Linked DNA regions of Homo sapiens: region 1 is linked to region 2. Evidence: promoter capture Hi-C in 16 types of primary human blood cells and fetal thymus (Javierre and others, 2016). All regions are on one chromosome and are shown on one strand. Each heading gives the region's core, a stretch centred on a gene start or on the middle of the fragment in contact. The rest is flanking DNA. Distances are from core to core; before and after follow the strand shown.

Region 1 (3,992 bases), core at 907-3,406, 240 kb after region 2:
TTCCTGACTACATCTTTACCTCTACTGCGTGCTCCTGTGGCACCCTAAACCTATCCCAGCACACCTCTTGGCAGTGGCTCTCAACCAGGGACAATTTTCACCCCAGGAGACATTTAACAATATCTAGAGACAGTTTTCATTGTTATAACTGGGAGGAGGGTTCCTACTGGTATCTAATGTGTAGAGGCTGTGGATGCTACTAAACACACTACAATACACAGGACAGACCCTCCACAGCAAAGAATCATCTAGCCCAAAATGTCCATTGTGCCGAGGTTGAGAAACCCTGCTATATGGGAATTGCCTGGTTACTTACCTGTGTCTCCCACTGGAATGAAGATATGTTATCTTGTTCAGTGATGGGTTCTCAATACCTTTCACAATGCCTGGTACACAGCAGACACTCAGCGGACTTTGAATAAATGAATGATCTGACCTCTAAAAGCACCAAACAGATGTTTAGATGAATGAATAATCAGATGGATAAATGGGCTGTCCTCTGGGAGTAGAATGGACACAGAGAAAAGCACATCCACTGTTTTCTAGGCCCTGGGTGCCAGAAGGAAGTCACATGGTACCTTTATCTAGATGGAATTAAACAGAGTGACAATGGCCATGGTGGCAAGTTGTGGAGGGTGTAGGAGATGGAGAACAGGATTTAGGGAGGAAAGGGCCCAGAACGAAGGATAAACACTGTGGCCTGGGCCCGTGGAGAGATCGCTGGGGCTGCAGCCTGTGTGGAGAGACCGCTTCTCCTTCCTATGCTGAACCACACATTCCTTGTGCCCCCAGGGAGTGATGGAGAGCTTCCTGGGCACTGCCATGGCTGGCTCCTTGTTCTGCCTCTTCTCGGGACAGCCTCTCATCATTCTCAGCAGCACGGGGCCCATCCTCATCTTTGAGAAGCTCCTCTTCGACTTCAGCAAGTAGGTGTCCCTTGGTGGCCCCCAGTGCCTGCTCTCGCATTTGGGGCAGTATGCTGGGGCTAGGGCAGGGGAATAGGTCCCAAGGGTAGGTGGTGGTGCGGTGGTGCCAAAGCCATCTTTAACTATGGGAAGGGCTACCAGGTGGCCCCTCCTGACTCCTGCCAGCTACCTGCCTTTAAGACATCTTAGTGCATATTGGCACAGCCCATAGGGACCAGCCACGACAAGAGGAGAAAATTCACACCACTCAGTTTGTGAGCAATGGTGACTTGATAGGCAGTATAGTGTATGAAGTCTTGGGCTGAAGGTCAGAAGGTTACACCCAGACCCAGGCAGCTCCCATCACTACTCCAGGCTCAGTTGCCTCCTCTACAACATGAGGGTTTGGACCAGACCATTTCCAAGGGCTGCTCCAACCCTGTTCTTCCAAAATTCCCTGTTTTTCACTCACTCTGGTGTCTGTTACCAACTGTGAGCACTGAGATGTCTTGGCACCTTCCTGCCTCCTCCATAAGATCTTTAAAAAAAATTTTTTTTTGGCCGGGCGTGGTGGCTCACACCTGCAATCCCAGCACTTTGGGAGGCTGGGGCGGGCGGATCACCTGAGGTCAGGAATTTGAGACCAGCCTGGCCAACATGGTAAAACCCCGTCTCTACTAAAAATACAAAAATCAGCCAGGCGTGGCGGCGGGTGCCTGTAATCCCAGCTACTTAGGAGGCTGAGGCAGGAGAATCACTTGAACCAGGGAGGCAGAGGTTGCAGTGAGCCAAGATCACGCCATTGCAGTCCAGACTGGGTGACAGAGAGAGACTCTTTCTCAAAAAAAAAAAAAAGTTCTTATAAAGATGAACACTGGACCCCCATGAAATCTCAAAGATCAGACAACTCTGCCCAAGAATTGTCCCTGTCCCCAGTCTTTCACAGTCCCTGGGAGGGCATCAGTGCCACAGGAGGACAGATAAGCCACTTAAGGATGAGTCTGAGGAGTCAAGCACAGCCAGGAGCCCTGGGCTGGAGGCCCCTCACCTCCCCTCTGCCTTCCAGAGGCAATGGCCTGGACTACATGGAGTTCCGCCTCTGGATTGGCCTACACTCAGCTGTCCAGTGCCTTATCCTAGTGGCCACAGATGCCAGCTTTATCATCAAATATATCACCCGCTTCACCGAGGAGGGCTTCTCCACCCTTATCAGCTTCATCTTCATCTACGATGCCATCAAGAAGATGATCGGTGCCTTCAAGTACTACCCTATCAATATGGACTTCAAGCCAAACTTCATCACTACCTACAAGTGCGAGTGTGTCGCCCCTGACACAGGTGACCGGTAACCCCAGACATGCCGTGGGCCCTCACCTACCCCACCGGCCCCCTGATCCTTCACCACAGCTCTCTACTTCTACTGCTGGGGAGGGGCCATTCAGCCAAGGGCTTACAGTTCCAAGAGAGCAAATACAGGGTCTTGAACCCAGTGTTTGGAAGGAAACCAAGGGGACAGTAGCTCTAATAAGAGTCACAGGGTTGTCATCAGGAGGGCACAGGGATATCCTAGGAAGGAGTAAGGCATGCTTTGCCTCAGTGTGGGGTAATGTGGAGGCCACACCTATCAGGAGTGCCACTCAGGGGTTCCTGCTGCAGGCCAGAGATAGAACTGATGGTGCCTGAAGTCCCGCCCAGCTCCATCAAGTCATGATACGATGAGCTCTCCCCAAGACAGAGCTGCCCGTGTGGCCACATACCGTGTAAGGTGAGACCACACCTGAGGGATGGACATCCACACAGATGGAAACATGTCCAGAGTGGAGGCTCTGTCATCCATGCCATCTGAGAACAGTTGGAGAACCGGGGCTTATTCAGCCTCTTATGAATATGAGAGTTATGAGAGAAGGACTGTCATGTCACAAAGGAGCTGTGTTCACCCTCTGAAACCACAGGATGTAGAGCTGAATGAGGAACAGGGAGCAGAAGCTCCAGGAAGCCAGATGCTGGCTGAATTTAGGAAAGAACCTACAATGGTGGGCGTTAACCACCATGGGAGTTCTCGGCCCCCTTGGTTGGTAGCAAGTTACTTGGACACTCTCTGGATGTCCATCTGCCAAGGATATTGTAAAAAGGATCCCTGTACAGATGGGGTCAACCTGGTAACACCCAGTGCCACTCCTGTGGAGTTACTTTCTGGCCAAAACACCTGTCATCTGTAAATTAGGGCTTCCCATAGCATCTGAGCCTCCTCCATAGTCATGATCATGCCCCTAAGAGCTTTCAGTGGGATGTGCCCAGAGTGCCCAGGGTGCTGCAGAGCAGGAGCAGGAGGTCTATGCACACATCTCCAAGCACCAAGGCTGGACTCACAGAGAGCAAACTGAGGTCCAGAGACCACCCAAGGTCATGCCAAGCCTCAGTTTCCCTGGCTGTAAAAGAGGGGTCTCAATGCGGGCCCTGGTGGTCTCCTGGGACTCCTGTGGGGTTTCCAAATCTATACCCCGATTGAGTTGAAGGAAATAAGTGGATAGTGGGTTCAGCCCCTTAATACATTACTACGGGTAAAAAAAATCATAAGTCAATCGAAAATATTTGCTGCACAATTATTGTATGCCCTACTTTAGGCCTTGTGGAAGATAAAGATGTCCTGCCTTCAGAGAGTTCAGTTTTGATTATAACCCCTTCTCTCTGTGACTGCACTGATTTTGTAAAGAAGTCCAGACTTTTTTCTTTCTTTTTTTCTGTCATTAATTTTGAGTTATTCCACTAAAATCTAATGACAGGTGATGCTACCCTTTGTTCTGAGCCAAGGCATGTTGCTTGCCCAGAGGGGATCCTACCTGCAGGCAGGCCCTTTTCATTCTGCCCTGGAGCAAATCCTGCCTCTGTGGGGAAGCCCCATCAGGGCCCTCCTACGTGCTTGTATCTTATAGACTGTAGATTCAGTGTTGCATTGACGTAAATTTTACACAAACATAGCTTCTAGAAGCACACATCCTTGATCTCTTTTAGAAAAAATCCAAATTCTGTTTATTTTTATTTTATTTATTTTTTTGAGACAGAGTCTGACTCTGTCGCCCAGGCTGG
Region 2 (3,917 bases), core at 1,393-3,892:
AATTAGCCAGGCGTGGTGGCAGGCGCCTGTAGTCCCAGCTACTCGGGAGGCTGAGGCAGGAGAATCACTTGAACCCGGGAAGCAGAGGTTGCGGTGAGCCAAGATCACACCATTGCACTCCAGCCTGGGCAACGGGAGCAAAACTCCATCTCAAAAAAAAAAAAAAAAAAGAAATACTGCTCAGGGGAAGATGAGGCTATGGATGTAATGTTTAGTTCAGGCCAGATACAAGGAGTCTTGATATAAGGGAATGGCAGCAAGACCAGGAACGGAAATGAGGGGCTTCTGTCAAGAGACATTTAGAAGTAGATTTTAGTGGCCGGCATGGTGGCTCATGCCTGTAACCCCAGCACTTTGGGAGGCCGAGATGGGTAGATCACAAGGTGAGGAGTTTGAGACCAGCCTGGCCAATATGGTGAAACCCCTCTCTACTAAAAATACAAAAATTAGCTGGGCGTGGTGGTGGGTGTCTGCCATCTTAGCTACTCAGTAGGCTGTGGCAGGAAAATTGCCTGAATCCGGGAGGAGGAGGTTGCAGTGAGTAGAGATGGCGCCACTGCACTCCAGCCTGGGCGACAGTGTGAGACTCTGTCTCAAAAAAAAAAAAAAAAAAAAGTAAATTTTAGTGACTAACTAAATGTTTGAGGTAAAAGAAAGGGATATAAAATGATTATCAGATTTCCAGATTAAACAACTAGATGAAAGTTTGTGTTATTAACCAAAATTGGGATTAGAAGAAAAGCAACCAATTTACAAACATGATAAATTAATTTAACAAAAGTTAATTAAATTAACTTTTGGGTTTGAGTTTGAGATTCTAGGGAGTATAGCGCCTCAATGCTTCCAAATCTGATCCTGTCCCTCCTTCGAAAACCCTGCTGTCTACCGGGCATGGTGGCTCACACCTGCAATCCCAGCACTCTGGGAGGCCAAGGCGGGCGGATCACGAGGTCAAGAGATCGAGACCATGCTGGCCAACATGGTGAAACCCAGTCTCTACTAAAAATACAAAAATTAGCTGGGACTGGTGGCATGTGCCTGTAGTCCCAGCTACTCAGGAGGCTGAGGCAGAAGAATTGCTTGAACCAGAGAGGCGGAGGTTGCAGTGAGCCAAGATCACACCACTGCACTCCAGCCTGGGCGACAGAGTGAGACTCCATCTTAAAAAAAAACAAAAAACAAAAAAACTCTGTTGCCTACTTGAGAACATCCAAACCCCTGTGCTAAGTCAAAGCCTTTCAAGCCATCTGCTGCCTTCTCTCCCACCCCATCTTTTACTGTTCCAACCAGATTCTCTACTCTGGTCTCACTTTGGTAAAGTTCTCTCAACTTTTCCTTGTTTTACTGTCTTTGCTCACACTGTCCCCTCCATCTATAAAAAGATATTTTTTCATTTTTTTTTTGAAATGGAGTCTCCCTCTGTTGCCCAGGCTGGAGTGCAGTGGTGTGATCTTGGCTCACTGCAACCTCTGCCTCCCGGGTTCAAGCGATTCTCCTGCCTCAGTAACCCCAGTGACTGGGATTACAGGCGCACACCACCACGCCCAGCTAGTTTTTCGTATTTTTGGTAGAGATGGCGTTTCACCATGTTGGCCAGGCTGGTCTCGAACTCCCGACCTCAAGTGATCCGCCCCCCTAGGCCTCCCAAAGTGCTGAGATTACAGGTGTGAGCCACTGGGCCCAGCTTTTTTTTTTTTTTAGACAGAGTCTCACCGTTCCCCAGGCTGGAGTGCAGTGGCACGATCATGGTTCACTGAAACCTTGACCTCCCGCGCTCAAGAGATCCCCCACCCACCACGCGGGCTAAATTTTTTAAAAACATTTTTGTAGAGATGGGGTCTCACTATGTTGCCCAGGCTGGTCTCTAACTCCTGGGCTCAAGCAATCCTCCCGTCTCAGCCTCCCAAAGTGTTGAGATTACAGGCACAAGCCACCGCGCCCGGCCTCCATCTTTTCCCAAGGAACTCGTACCCACTCCCTAATCCTCAACTCAGAGACCCTTGTCTGCTCAATTCTACCCACTTCGAGCATCTGTTACATCAGGATCATCCTCCTGATCCCCTGCCCCTCACTTGCCTAAGATCCTCAAGGGCATGGCCGGAGACTACAACTCCCCAAAGCCTCCAGAGCCCCGTCTGGCGCCCATCCGTCGCGGGTTTCTGCACAGCTGACTTCAAAGAGGCGTGACCAAAATGAGCAGGACTGGGGGAAACTGAGGGTCGCTTTTACCTCTTCGCCGTAATCCTCTGGACCGAATTCCTTGCAAAGTTTGGGTGCAGCAGCGACCTCCAGTGGGCAGCTGGGCCGTAGAGAGCAGTCTACAGGAAAGGAAGGCGGAGCCTCGTCAGCGGGCTCGGGACAGATGGGCTAGAGTCCTCCCCACTCTACCCTCGACTCTCCGCCCTCTGCATAAAATCCTACTCGAAACGTTCAGACCACAGGTGGACCCAAGAGGGGCTGCCTCTGCCCTCCTAGACCCCCACTGGTCTTGTCATACCGCTCACCTAGCTTGATCCGCCCCACAGTCTTTGGAATCGGCGCCATCGCATCTACAGTGACCCGGAAATGAAAGGTAGTCTAGTATTTGATACCAGCCAAAGGGCGGGGTGGGACAGAGTGGGCGGCCATGTTTGTTAGGGGCAGAAGCCTCCCATTACGGAGCACGAGAGAGTCCATGAAGGTCCCCGCGACTCCCGGACTGGAGAAAACGGCTCTTGCGATGGGGCGAAGTCCGAGCTGCGGCGGGCGTTGGTCCGTGCAGGGAAGTGGGAATCGTTAGGTTCGTTCTGGACCCGCCGCCCCATGGCCCAGGCGTCTCGCTCAGGTAGCCTGCCTCCACTCGTTATCGTGCCCCCGCTGAGGGCGCAACCCGGGGGCACTGGGGAGGAGCAGTGGGAGAGAAGTCGAACGGGCGGTCTTCGCTGGGAGGTTCACTGCTGGCCGAGCGGAACTTCTGGAGGGACGCCGTGGTGGCCGACGCCGGCGGATGTGAGCGAGGACTACGAGGCTGATGCTGCGGCCTGGAGGCGGGGGCCCGCAGGTGGCGGCCCGATCCCTCCCGCGCTGCAGCGTCTCCGGGCGGTGTTGCTGCGGCTGCATCGCGAGCGGGAGCAGCTCCTCCAGGCCCGAGACTGCGCCTACCACCTACAGTCGGCTGTGCGACTCATGAAGACCCTGAGTCCTGGCTCGCCATCCGGCGGCCCTAGCCCCTTGCCCCAGTGGTGCCGCGACCTGCAGCTGCACCCTTCCCAAGGGGCGGTTCTGCGAATCGGCCCTGGGGAGACTCTCGAGCCGCTGCTGCTAGCGCGCCCCATCGGACTAGCCGCCCAGTGCCTGGAGGCTGTCATCGAGATGCAGCTTCGCGCTCTCGGCCGGGAGCCCGCCAGCCCGGGCCTGTCGTCCCAACTCGCCGAGCTGCTCTTTGCACTTCCCGCCTACCACACACTACAGAGAAAAGCCTTGAGCCACGTCCCAGGGGCCGCACGTCCTTTCCCCACGTCCCGTGTGCTCCGCCTCTTGACGGGGGAGCGGGGTTGCCAGGTGGCAAGTCGGCTGGACGAGGCGCTCCAAGGATCGGCGTTGAGGGACCAGCTCCGCAGGCGGTGCCAAGAGGAGGGGGATCTGCTACCAGGGCTGCTGGGCCTGGTCGGGGGCGTGGCGGGTTCAGCCAGCTGTGGACTAGGGCTCGGAGGGGCTGGGGCCTTGTGGAGCCAATACTGGACCCTGCTGTGGGCAGCCTGTGCTCAGAGTCTGGACCTAAATCTGGGACCCTGGAGGGACCCCAGGGCAACAGCGCAACAGCTGAGTCAGGCACTGGGTCAGGGTGAGTGATGGGCTTGGGTGGGCGTTTGGGAAGGCTGGGGTCTCTTCCTTCCCCTTGGCCAACTCACTGACCTGCCATCCTGAAGGCAAAAGCA

What was found. The method cuts DNA at HindIII sites, captures the fragments that hold promoters and counts their contacts. A CHiCAGO score of 5 or more calls a contact.
Region 1: a fragment that was not itself captured here is called in contact with the fragment with the promoter of CCDC142 in region 2 in 5 of 17 cell types (total CD8 T cells, naive CD4 T cells, total CD4 T cells and 2 more); the score reaches 5.4 in total CD8 T cells.

Annotation. Positions count from the first base shown.
Region 1 is chr2:74,245,287-74,249,278 of GRCh38, reverse strand. SLC4A5 (solute carrier family 4 member 5) reads left to right here. Exons shown (of 31, transcript NM_133478.3): 18 at 793-926; 19 at 1,972-2,243. Among named protein-coding and RNA genes, the nearest start is that of MTHFD2, 49 kb to the right of the region's middle. The HindIII fragment of the contact is 6,305 bases long and covers 1-3,992 here.
Region 2 is chr2:74,481,723-74,485,639 of GRCh38, reverse strand. It overlaps CCDC142 (coiled-coil domain containing 142), which reads left to right and starts at 2,642. Exons shown (of 9, transcript NM_001365575.2): 1 at 2,642-3,823. The coding sequence starts at 2,803. TTC31 (tetratricopeptide repeat domain 31) reads right to left here and starts at 2,559. Exons shown (of 13, transcript NM_022492.6): 1 at 2,505-2,559; 2 at 2,230-2,318. The coding sequence starts at 2,544. RefSeq lists enhancers at 2,130-2,239, 2,560-3,099, 3,210-3,329, 3,400-3,499. The HindIII fragment of the contact is 7,623 bases long and covers 1-3,917 here.